4 separate regions of the Homo sapiens genome follow, and all the other regions are linked to region 2. Evidence: promoter capture Hi-C in 16 types of primary human blood cells and fetal thymus (Javierre and others, 2016). All regions are on one chromosome and are shown on one strand. The core of a region is centred on a gene start or on the middle of the fragment in contact, and the rest is flanking DNA. Distances in the headings are between cores, read along the strand shown.

Region 1 (3,013 bases), core at 1-2,500, 280 kb before region 2:
AAAACTAGTGCCTTCCTTAGTCCAAAGGAAATATGGGGACATAAATGAGAGCTTCCCCATAGATAGTAAGAACAAGCAGCATGGGATTTAAGATTGACCTGTGCCTGCGTTGGAGGTAGGGAGAGTTCTGTTTTCAGCTGTAGATGCAACTGAGGCCTCCCTCTGCTCTTAAATGCCTGACCATTCTGCTCCAAAGTGGGGAGCACTTTCAACTCTAAGGCCAAGGGCCTTCCCTGGAGAGGTGACCCTCTGTAAGGCAGCTGGCTAGTACTGGTCCCATTTAGGAGCTGATGCCTTGCTTTTCCCCCAGACTGCCCTAGTGAGCTTTGCCACCACTGGGGAGAAGACGGTGGCTGCAGTCATGGCCTGTCGGAATGAAGTGGTGAGTATTGAGAACAACAGTCAGCACTTGGGATTTTCCTTCCTGGTCTCCACTAGGAACCCTGAAAATCAGAAGTCTGGGCACATTGACCTGGTCAGTTTGAACCCAGCGGGCAGGAGGCTGTTGAGAAGTGAGGTCTTGCCTCAACTATAGAGCTTTCTGCACACCCCATTTCTCCCCAGGAACGAGACCCTAATGTGATGACCTTACTTTCATATGGGGCTATTAAGGGTTGAATAGGCTTTGTGGGCAGGGGTGAGAAATGAGCTTTGTCTTCTCTCAAGTGCTAAGAAGACAAAAACAAAAGCTTCATTTCAGTGACTGGGAAGTGACCCTTTGGCTGAATTTTCTCCTGTCCTTCTCTTTCTCATAGCAGAAAAGTAGCAGTTCTGAAGATGGGTCAATGGGGAGCTTTTCGGAGAAGTCTAGTTCAAAGGTATGGTGTGGCACTGGGCAGTATGCCAGACCTAGAGACGCAGGAGGCCACCAAAGAGAGTTGGGGGAAGAGCTTTGGTTAGGAGCAGGTCCTAGAGTTCCCAGCTTCAAATGAGGTTTCCTAAGTACTGTAAATTAAATGATGTTTCTCTTAATCTCATTTTACCGGGAGATTAGGAGGTAGAATCCCTAGAGTCTGTTTCTAGCCACTTTCTCCTCTGGGCCTCAGCGTCCCCATTTCTTTTGGGATCCTGGCTGGCACAGTTGAGTAGTACTCTGTGCAGTTACCCTGTAGCAGAGGCATGAGCCCCTGGCTGGAGGCATAGGTTCCTGCTGTGGCTTCCATCTAAGCGTTTCCCTGCCTCCTGTCTTGCTCAGTCTTACCTTGCTCAGCCCTACCTCTCTCTCAGAAGTCTCTGCTACTCTGTACTGGCTTCCAAGACAAGTATGGTAGTTGTAATTTCATTTATTTACTCAGGCACCTTATTTCTGCCTTAGGATTTAGCTTGCTTTTCTCTTTTATTCTCCTTTGCATATATTTCCCCTTCTGGCCTGGCTCCTTCTCTAGGGTATTTGCCCCCAATCCTTGGACTTCCTTTGGTGGGCTTTGCTTTCGGGGGATACCTGTAGTTGACACGTGCTGTCTGTACTCCTAGGACTCTCTGGCTTGCTTCAATCAGACCTACACCATTAACCTATACCTCGTGGAGACAGGTCGGCGGCTGCTGGACACCACGATAACATTTAGCCTGGAACAGAGCGGCACTCGGCCTGAGCGGGTAAGGCAGAGCCTTTCTTTGCAGACTGTCCTGTGGGCTTCTCAGCACATGGCTTCCTTTCCTCAGGGCCAGGTCTTAGCCATGGGGCTTGGATTAGGCTCTCTAAACATGTGTTCTAGTGCTCTCTGAGCCACTGACTTGTTAGAAGTCACAGTAAAGGCGGGTATTATTTATGCCAGCTCATCATTGTGCACCAGGGACTGTTCTAAGCTTTTAACTTACACATTAATTGATTTAACCCTCCAAACACTCTCATGAAGCGGTTGTTCCTGACCTGGTTTTAAAATGATTCTGTGGCCTGGTGGGATCGAGTACCATAGCCAGAGTCACGGAGCCAGTAAGAGGTGTCACTGCGGTTCAGATTCAGGTCTAACCCCACAGCCTGGACTCCTCATCACTACCCAGTATTGCCTCTGTGTGCATCTGGTTGTGTTCCTCAGCTGCTTGGGCTGTGGCTTCTTCGTTTCTAAAGCGGAAAGTCTAATCCCGGCCTCCTGCTCACTTTGTGGGGTGTGATTAGAGCATGGATGAATGGCGTGGTACCCGTGGAGTACTCAGGTTCTTCCATGGAAAGGTCTGGGAGACCCCAGCATCATTATGTTGGCTCCTAAGAATATGTATCACTTACTGGCATCCAGATAATAGCTACATTGTTTAGACATCAAATAATGCCATGGCCTGTACCTCTGTTAAGTCCAGGCTTTGACTCCTGGGGTCTGGTGCTCTCAGAGGCATTTGGATCCTCACTGACTACACCGGTCTTGACTGTGGCTTATAGCTGTATATCCAGGTGTTCTTGAAGAAGGATGACTCAGTGGGCTACCGGGCTTTGGTGCAGACAGAGGATCATCTGCTACTTTTCCTGCAGCAGTTGGGTAAGTAGACCTCATTCAACCCATTTTTTTATTTCCCCAGGCCTTCCAATGTGTTCCAATCAGACTGTTTTTTGGGAGGCTGCAGGTTTCTGGAAGAGATTCAAGTGGAGTGTGCCCTGAGTGTTTCGTTCATAGCCAAATGTCACCTGCTTTTTTTTTTTTTTTTTTTTTTTTGAGATAGAGTCTTGCTCTCTTGCCCAGGCTGGAGTGCAGTGGCATGATCTCGGCCCACTGCAATCTCCACCTTTCGGATTCAAGCGATTCTCCTGCCTCAGCCTCCTGAGTAGCTGGGATTACAGGCGTGTGCCACCACGACCAGCTAATTTTTGTATTTTCAGTAGAGACAGGGTTTCCCCATGTTGGCCAGGCTGGTCTCGAATTCCTGACCTCAAGTGATCCGCCTGCCTCGGCCTCCCAAAGTGCTGGGATTACAGGTGTGAGCCACCGTGCCTGGCCTGTCACCTGCTTTTTTTTTTTTTTTTGAGACGGAGTTTTGCTCTTGTTGCTCAGACTGCTGGAGTACAGTGGCATGATCTCAGCTC
Region 2 (2,848 bases), core at 136-2,635:
GTGTGCCTGTCCTCAAGCTTACATACAAAGAGACAAAACAAACACAAAAGTTAATAACAAGACAAAAATTAAACTGCTAGTAAAAAATGCAGTCGGAAGTATCTGAAACATGCCACATATCTGGTTAAGTGCATACAATGCAAGCCACAGGCGTTCAAAGGTGGGGGTTCAAGGTGGGGGTCACCTCCCCTCTGAGGTTTGCGGTGAGGACCAAATGCGGAAATGGACACGAGGCCCGAGGCCAGCATTGTGGAAGGCCGGTTAGAGCATGCACTTTGGACCATTGTGGCTACTTAACGTCTCAGTGACCTTCTCTGTAAAATGGGGATAATAAATAAGTATGGCGCCTGACATATACTAATGTTTGCAACACGGTTCAGGAGACACCAGAGACTGGAGAACTTGGCCTTTAACGTGGTAGGTGTGAAAACATTTGAATGAATGAATGAATGAATGAATGGGTCCTCGGGTTGCCTCGGTCTGCCCCAGGCGGCCCGCTAAGCCCCATGTCTGTGAAATGAATCCCCAGCTCTCGGGGTCAGCTTCATCTCAGCGTGTGGGTGTGGGTGGTGGGGAGGTGCTGAGCAGCTCAGCAGAGGCGAGGCCCAGGCCGAGTTTGTGGGTGTCATCCCGGGAGGGTCTTGCTCGGCCTCCCCAACCCCCATGCTGCTCGGCTCCTCAGTGGGCGGGGGAACCAGCGGGCTTAGCTGTGCCCGGGCCGATCTCGAGAGGACAAGGCCCGCAGCTAGCATTCGAGGAGCCCACCCCCGGGTCCGCAGCGTGGGGCACGGGCGCCCTCTTATCCCCGAAAGGTCGATCTGGGCCTCCCCAGGCTAGAGTGGGGGTGGGGTGCCGATGCACCTTCGGATACTGTGGTCCCCCAGCCCTTCCAGCCGCGGTCGCGCACATCCGAAGGAATTTGGGGCCAGGGGCATTGCGGGCAGAGAGGACAGAGAAACGGAGCCCTCTCGGCAGGCGACGTGGGAGAGGAGCGCCCTAAAAAGTGGAAAGCGAGCGTTGCCGAGGCTGCTGGCCCCTTTAAGAGGCCCGGCTGGCTCTGCGGCGGTTCCAGCTAACCCGGTCCCTGGTGCAGCTCTGCGGTCCGGGTCCCCCAGCAGAGAATCGGCACCCGGCGGGGAGGCAGGACCAGACGCAGGAGAGGGCGTGGCCCCGCCGGGGAGCTGGGCGGAGTCTATGCTGCGGAGAAAGCGGGAGAACCCGGAGGTGGGCGGAGCCGAGGGTCTGTGGGTGGGGCCCGGCGCTGCGGGCCTCGTGGGGCGGAGCCTCGGGCTCGGGGAACGCCGCAGAGGGAGGAGGGGTGGGCGGGGCCGCGGCGGGGGCGGGGCCAGTGTCTGCAGTGGGCGGGGCCCGCCGCAGAAGGGGCAGTGCCGGCCGAGAGTCCTCTGCGTGCGGCTGCCGCGGCCCCTCCACAGCGTCTCTGACAGCCCGGGCGGTGAGACCCGCGACCCTTCTGGCCCCGCGCAGATACCGCGGCCTCCACCGCGTCCCGAGGAGCGGCCGAGTGCCCTCTCTCGCCTCGGCGCCCGCATCCGGGGCCATCCGTCCTGCCGTCTCTGCGGAGGCCGCATCTGGCGCGCATCTGGAACCGCCCGGCCGGCCGCGCTGGAGCCCGCGCCCACCCTGGCCCGGCCGCGCCGGGAGCCCTGCCCGGAGCTGGAGCCGCACCTGGAGCCGCGGGCCCGGGGCCCTGAGCCGCGCAGCCGGCGCATGGTGAACTCGCTGCTGTTCGGGGAGATGGCCTTGGCCTTCGGCTGCCCGCCGGGCGGCGGCGGCGGGGGCTGCCCTGGCGGGGGCGGCGGCGGCGGCGGGGCAGGGCCGGGTCCGTCGCCGGTGACGGCGGCGCTGCGGGACGACCTGGGCTCCAACATCCACCTCTTGAAGGGGCTCAACGTGCGCTTCCGCTGCTTCCTGGCTAAGGTGCACGAGCTGGAGCGGCGCAACCGGCTGCTGGAGAAGCAGCTGGAGCAGCAGCAGAGCGAGCGCGAGCGGCGGCTGCGCTACAAGACCTTCTCCCGCGAGCAGGCCGTGCAGACCGGGCCCGAGTTGCTGCGGCCCCCGGCGCCCGGCGGCGGGCACGGCCTCAGCAGTGGCGCGGCGGCCGGCGCCAACGCCAATGCCGTGGCCCTGGGCGGCCTGCCCCCCGGCGGCGGCTCGCACCCGCAGCACTACGGCCGCCTGCCCGGGACCATCTGGAGCTACACGCAGGTGCGGCGCACGGGCGGCGGCGGCGTGGAGACCGTGCAGGGCCCCGGCGTGTCGTGGGTGCACCCCGACGGCGTGGGCGTGCAGATCGACACCATCACGCCGGAGATCCGCGCGCTCTACAACGTGCTGGCCAAGGTGAAGCGCGAGCGCGACGAGTATAAGCGGAGGTGAGTGGCCGCCCCTCCCCCGCCGCCCTGGGACGGGGCGCCCAGGTCCAGGCTGCCGCGGAATGCGTATGCGGGACGGGGGCCGGGCGGGCAGCTGGTACTGGCAGGTGGGCTGGAAGCTGTGTTTGCAGAGCGTCTTACGTACGCCAGGAAGGCCCAGTTATCTAGATCCCAGGATGGGGGCGGGCGCTGGCTACCGTGGGGGCCACCTCGATGCTGTCACTGGTGAGGCACATTGTTTTCTAGGTGACATAATAACTGTCTGTGTTTTATGCGATCTCATTTAATTCTCAGCACAATACAGCGTATTGTGTAAGGCAGTCTTATCCTCATCTCGCAGATGAGGAAACCGAGGTGCAGAAATGCTAAGTGATTTGCCTAAGGTGGCTTGGCGAGTAAGTGGTGAAACCGGGATTTCAACCAGAGATTTTAACCACTCCTGGCTAGTCTGTCTC
Region 3 (3,150 bases), core at 301-2,800, 300 kb after region 2:
GTTAGCCCTATTTTACAGATGAGAACACTGAGGCTCATGGAGGTCATTTCTTGTCTGCAGTTACAGGGCGGGGCAGTGGGCTGAGTTAGCGTGCAGGCTTCCAGATAGTCCCAGAGCAAGTGCTGGGAAAGGCCAGTTCGATCCTCTCAGCCTCTGCATGCCCATCAAGGAGCTGGAGGAGGATTAAAGTCTAATCCAAGAGACGTGGACACACCAAAGGCAAGTTTGGGGTGGGAGGAGAGATCAGAAAGTTTCTGCAAAGAGGCACAGGAAATGTGAGTTTGAAAAAATAAAGACGAATTCATTTCCACCTCATGGACCCCAAAGCGGGACTCTCCCACAGCCCCTATGCCCCCTACTCCTCATGGCAACCCTTACACTGAAGGGAGGGATATCTGTTTGCCTGTCTACCCCACCAAGCAAGGGGGCCTCTGAGGGCAGGGATGGACCCACGTTGTTCTGTTTCAGCCAAGCTCTGGGTATTTATTTCTCAACAGAGATTTACTGATCATCTAACAACCACGTGTCAACTGTCTAATCCTCCATGCTTTGGCCCCCTCCCTATTCTATGCCCCCTGCTCTAGCATGCGTGTGTGCTTTTTACTTTCCCCTCTAGCACTCTGAAGCCCTTACACTCACTATTTCACTTCAGCCTTACAAAACCCTAACGAGCAAAGTAGCTTTTGCTCCATTTTACAGCCAAGAAAACCGAGGGTCAAGGGGAGGAAATAGCTCCTTATGTGCCCATTTCTCCCCTAACTCATCCTCCAGGTCCCCCACCCCCGTGAGTCCTCTCTCCCCTCCCTTTAGCCGCTGGCTCACAGGCCAGGACTGGGCCCCACCTCTGAGCCCCCTTCTGTTTTTTCACTCAGGATTCCTGAGCCCAAGGAGGCAGGCTTGTTTATAGCCCTGCCAGTCCTGGTGCCTTGGTCCCAGCTCAGGTCAGCTCTCTGGGGCTAGTAGGGGCTTTTGAACGTGGTAAATACAGGTTGCAGGGGTCAGGGGTCACAGCCCTTCCTAGGGGGAAGTTAGACTTGAATCATCCATGAAATAGTAATGCTCATCTTGGGGCGTGGAAGGGAGGCAGATTTCTTAAATTATGATGACTCCACAACAACCCTCCCTCCACCTCCCAGGCCTCAATCATCCCCCACTTTGGTTTCCCTGGAAGGACTTGGCATCTGGATTTTCCGTTTTCCTCCCTCCTAATTTTGTCCTTAAGCCAGAAAAAATAAGGTGTCTAGGGGAAGAGAAGAGCAGAAAGGAAGAGAAGAATGTGGCGTGTGTCAGAGGCCTGCTGTGTCCTGGGCAGAGTTGGGTTGGAGTGGTGTCACCTGTCTTCCACAGGTAGGGGGATGACTTGGCCAAAACCTCCCAGCCAGCAAGTGGCAGAGCCAGGATTCGAACTTGAGTTGGTCTAAGTCAAAGAGCCAAGCTCCAAATGGGAGGCCCATTTGGCCCTATCCTAGGGGCCCCTCCCCTGACAGAGGCTCCAATTTGGGAGCGTTGATAAGGAGGACACCCCAGGCTCCAGCCACTGGGCTCCAATTCTACCCACAAACGTGGACGAATTCCGACCTCCTACATCCATGCTTCCCCTCAACCACCCCACGCAAGGGGCAGATGCCGAAGGGTAAGGTCCTCGAGCACATGGCCCGCTGGGCTTTTCCCAATTCTTTTGCAGTCACTCTTCCCTTCCAACCCATTCCTTAACAAAGGTGGGAGGAGGTTGAGGCCGTTCCTTGTGACAGGTACCTGAGCCCCACGGACCTACGGGATTGATCCTTACACGCCAGGGGGTAGGGTGAGCAACAATCCCAGTCTGCCTGGGACTGAAGGCTTTTCTGGAATGTGGGACCCTCAGTGGGAAAACCAGGAAAGTCCCAGGCCAAATGGGACAGTTGCCTGCTACCAGGACTCAGAGGCAGGGTTCCCACCTCTCAGGCAAGAGCAGTTTTCCCTCCACCTGGCTACTTGCCTAAGGTCCTTTCCTTTCCACTCTCTCTTTCCCCAGGGGAAAAACCACCAGGGAAGGTGAGTACAAATGACCTCCCTGGCCCTGCTAGCAGGGAAGCTCCTTAGAAGGTGAAGGTAAATGGCATGGGTGGAATTCTCTACACCATGATCATTAGGGACACTCCCTTTTCAGGCCCCCTCAGTAGCACCCAAATTAAGACAGATGTGGGATTGGGAGAGAGGGAGGAAGAGAAGTGGAAAGGAGGGGGAGGGAAAGCCTTGCCTTCAATTCTCAGCAGAGGCCTGGCTGCCCCCTCCCCTTTCCTGCTCAGGTGTCTCAGAGAAGTTCTCAAGTTAGGGAGCATTTATTGAGCACCTGTTCTGCATATGGTATTGCACTGGCACTAAATAGGTGAGATCAAAGCAGAATAAAATGTAGTTGACTGGTCCTTGCTCTCAAAGAAGGTCCTAATCTGGTGCAGGAGCTGAAAACACAGAACAAAACTCACTAGGACAGTGAATCTGCAGTACACACACAGACACACACATACACACACATGTCACACACATGCTTATGTGCACACAGTCACATGCATGCACACAAATACATATGCACACACATATACATACAGGCATGCACACATTACACATGCATGCACACACAACACACACATACATATGTGTACACACACACATATACGTGCATGCACACACACATATGCACACACACTCTCCAGCTCAAATGAAGGAAATTTTGGAGTTTTGCATAACCCTGGCTTGTTTGAGCAAGGGTTCCCTTAGCATTGATAATGAAGAAAGGTTTCTCCCAAGGCAACTTCATGTTTATGAAATGTCAACCCCAGCCAGCTCTCCTACAACCTTGCCCAGCCACGTGTCCTTGGGGTCAGGCTTCTACCAGCAAACCTTCCTTGCAGAACACATTCTCTCTGAGCTGCCTGAGCCATAGTCAGCCGGGCAGAAGCCTGCCATAGAACTGGGGCTAAGATTTGCTTTTGGCTTTAACCCCTGTCCTGCATGCAGCAGCTGAAAATCAGGGTGAGCCCCCAAGAGTGGGCCAGGCCTAGAGTTGCATCCCAGATGATTCCCTGAGAAAGTTACTTCTCTCTTGCCTCACTTTCCCTTCCATCATGTGGGGCCAATAACACCTACCTTGATGAAAAAGTCTGCAGAGGC
Region 4 (2,826 bases), core at 89-2,588, 320 kb after region 2:
TGGCTTAAACTGGTGCACTGTCAGATGCATGCGGCTTTGGTGTTCTTATTGTTTGTCACTGCTGTTATTGTTTTTTATACTATTGCTTATTTCTTCACACTCACTCCCTCAGCTCCCACTGAGGAACGGTTTGACCCATTGCAAACCCCTATCAAATTCCCCACAAGAATCTCTCTGAGCTCAGATTCTATGAAAATCTTTTCCTTTCTCTTCTCTCCTCAAATCCCCTCCCTGTTGGGTCCCCGGCCTGTCTATCCCCTGATCCTCGGAGAAAGGGGTGAAGAGGAGGGAGTCTAAGTGCATGGGGGCAAGGAACTGTCCACTTCCCTTTCCAGGTGAGCCAAGCTTGACTGGGGCAAGCACCTATCGGCAACGGTCTGAGAATACTCACCACCAACAATCCTAATAACTCAGTCTTAACAAGGATAAGAGCAAAAAAAAAAATATGAACAGCCTCATGAATATCAGCCCAAGGGGAGCAGGAGTGAGCTGTTCAGAGATGAAAGTGCACAGAAATAAAAGCTCAATTTAATCTGCTTTAAAACCCTTCAACTTAACGTTTGTGCTTCAAACTCTGAGAGTGAGAACTGATTGCGGATAAATAGTTTCTTACCATGCCTGGAAGCTATTACACCCCTCTCCAACACAGTTTCCTATTCAGCAGTCCCAGTTTTCATTACCAGCTCTAATAAGTCTTAACATTATTAAATGCCAAGCGGACGATAGGAAAAAACGGACTCAGGGAGGGATCTCTCTTTAGTGCTTAAAGAGGAGAGCTCTTAAACCCCTTCTTTGGTGGCTCCCTGCCATGAGAGGGGCAACTCCCCCAGAGAAAGCATTTTTCAAGAGCAAGAAGCCAAAACAAAGTTGTGGGTGTGCACAACTCCCCCTGCTCTGGCCATGGGGCATCTCTGCCTCTCCCTACCTGGATTACTCGGATGGAGATTGGAAGGTCTTTTCACCTTTAACTTGGACATGAAACTGATGTCTGGGGCCTGGAAGAGAGATGAGGGGTTCACAGGGGTGCCTGCCGACCAGCCCAGGAACTCAAATAGGAAACGGATACAATTTGCTCACAGATGGATAGATGGCCCTCTCTCATCTGCACCATCATATTGCCCATTCACACCCATCTACACACTCCCTGCACATCTATGCTGAATCCCATTTGCACAGATATATGGCCTACAGCATTCAGATCAGAAGGCCCGTGGGTAAACAGTCACACTAAGAGATGCTTGCGCTTACACAGCCATTCAAAGCACAATCAGCGCACCCAGCACACCCACTGTCACGCAAAAACTGCGGGACTTTCTGGAGACCAGGCTCACTGCATAAGATCATTTCATTTCTTCAGCTCCTCTAGACTTAGCACCTGTGTCCTCAGCCTCCCCCATCTGGCACAGGCTCCACTTTAAACCCTTGGAGACGTGGTTCTTCCTGGTTCTGCTGCAGGGAAAACCTCTATCCAGCAAAGTGGCTTGTTAGCTGGTGTGGTGAGCACAGGCCAGCATGGAACGCCCCGCATTCCCTGGAATCAGAGGAATCCTCCAAACCGCACGATCTTTCCATCCTCTTCCTTTCCTTCCCTTCCCTTTTTTCTCAGAGGAAATTTACCTATTTGTGCTTCCTCACAGATTGAACTGGATATACTCCCTGCGTGCAAACACAATTAAAGTCTCTCCAAGGAAAACCAAACCTCCTCTGCTTCTCCCTGGGATAACCTCAGAAGAGTTGTTTGTTGTGCAGGAAAGATTATTTGTCCAGGAAAGATTATTCGAGTTCTATGCCTCCCCTCCACAACCCACAAAAAGTCCATCTAGTCTCCTTCCAATGGGAACTGAAATAAGGACTGGGTCCCCCGGCAGGTGTCCCAGGGCTCTGGGCCGACTGGCCTAGCCAAGGACCGCTTGGCAGTGCAGGGCTGCCTCCCGCCGCAGACCCGTGGCCCCTCGGCAGGCCGGGCACAGCGGGGCGCCCGGCACAGCTGGCTCCCTTTCTTCCCTCGCCCTTTTGTCCCGGGCGGGACTGCGGCATCACTAGGGGCCCTGTCTGTCAATGGCCGCCCCTTCCCTTCGCTCCAGGCCGCTGTCACACGGGGCTGCCCGGCCACCCATCCTTCCTCCTCGGACCACGCCTGTGGGGGCTGGGCGTAGATGGGAGTTGTCTTAGTAAGCCGGCTTTGTCTGTGAAGTTCATCTTCAAGGTTGGGAGGGTCTTCTGAGAACTGGAGAGAGACCTGGGCTAGGAGTGCTTGGGTCGTGAGGAGAGGGGTGCTGGGAGAAACCTCTGAAGGGAGACTGAAACAACACTGGCTTTTTGCAAGCTTTCAGGTTCCAGGGCACTCGCCACTTTTTCCAAAGCCATCAGTCTGCGGGTTCCCATGGCCACTGTCTTTCCGATTCCCTCAGCCTGCCGCCTCTCCGCGTATGTGTTTGGGGCCTTTTCTTTAACTGTCAGTCTTTGTGACTCTGGGTCTTCCATTTCTGTTTCTCTCCCTGTCGCCCCTTAACGTGCACTTACCAAGTCTCAAAGAGACTTAGGAGGGGAATTATGAGGGCAATGAGGAAGGGGAGGGGGTAATGAGGAAAAACTTTCCCTTCCTTCTCTCGAAACTTCCTCCCGTCAAGAAACAAAAGCACAATCCCCTTTCCCGGGCTTCCGGGCGCTTGAAAACTAAACGCCCTCCTTAGCTGATCCTGAGAAAAAGCATGGCGCAGGACTCAGACTCCAGCCTGCCCGCGGAAGCCGTGCTAAGAATGGGGAGAGGGTGTGTGGAGCCTGGGTCTCTCCCCCACTGCGATCCTCCGACCCTGGGCATCTGGG

What was found. The method cuts DNA at HindIII sites, captures the fragments that hold promoters and counts their contacts. A CHiCAGO score of 5 or more calls a contact.
Region 1: a fragment that was not itself captured here is called in contact with the fragment with the promoter of IFFO2 in region 2 in 3 of 17 cell types (fetal thymus, activated CD4 T cells and megakaryocytes); the score reaches 7.4 in fetal thymus.
Region 3: a fragment that was not itself captured here is called in contact with the fragment with the promoter of IFFO2 in region 2 in 1 of 17 cell types (fetal thymus); the score reaches 6.0 in fetal thymus.
Region 4: a fragment that was not itself captured here is called in contact with the fragment with the promoter of IFFO2 in region 2 in 1 of 17 cell types (fetal thymus); the score reaches 8.8 in fetal thymus.

Annotation. Positions count from the first base shown.
Region 1 is chr1:19,236,600-19,239,612 of GRCh38, reverse strand. EMC1 (ER membrane protein complex subunit 1) reads left to right here. Exons shown (of 23, transcript NM_015047.3): 9 at 311-382; 10 at 756-818; 11 at 1,474-1,596; 12 at 2,375-2,471. All of the region lies in intron 1 of EMC1-AS1 (EMC1 antisense RNA 1), which reads right to left. Among named protein-coding and RNA genes, the nearest start is that of EMC1, 13 kb to the left of the region's middle. The HindIII fragment of the contact is 1,117 bases long and covers 692-1,808 here.
Region 2 is chr1:18,955,213-18,958,060 of GRCh38, reverse strand. It overlaps IFFO2 (intermediate filament family orphan 2), which reads left to right and starts at 1,385. Exons shown (of 9, transcript NM_001136265.2): 1 at 1,385-2,393. The coding sequence starts at 1,729. RefSeq lists silencers at 1,203-1,372, 1,943-2,202, 2,443-2,632. The HindIII fragment of the contact is 3,069 bases long and covers 20-2,848 here.
Region 3 is chr1:18,658,462-18,661,611 of GRCh38, reverse strand. The region is part of intron 4 of PAX7 (paired box 7); the gene reads right to left. Among named protein-coding and RNA genes, the nearest start is that of PAX7, 29 kb to the right of the region's middle. The HindIII fragment of the contact is 3,395 bases long and covers 1-3,150 here.
Region 4 is chr1:18,637,014-18,639,839 of GRCh38, reverse strand. All of the region lies in intron 4 of PAX7 (paired box 7), which reads right to left. Among named protein-coding and RNA genes, the nearest start is that of PAX7, 7.6 kb to the right of the region's middle. RefSeq lists enhancers at 2,038-2,655, 2,656-2,826. The HindIII fragment of the contact is 1,981 bases long and covers 348-2,328 here.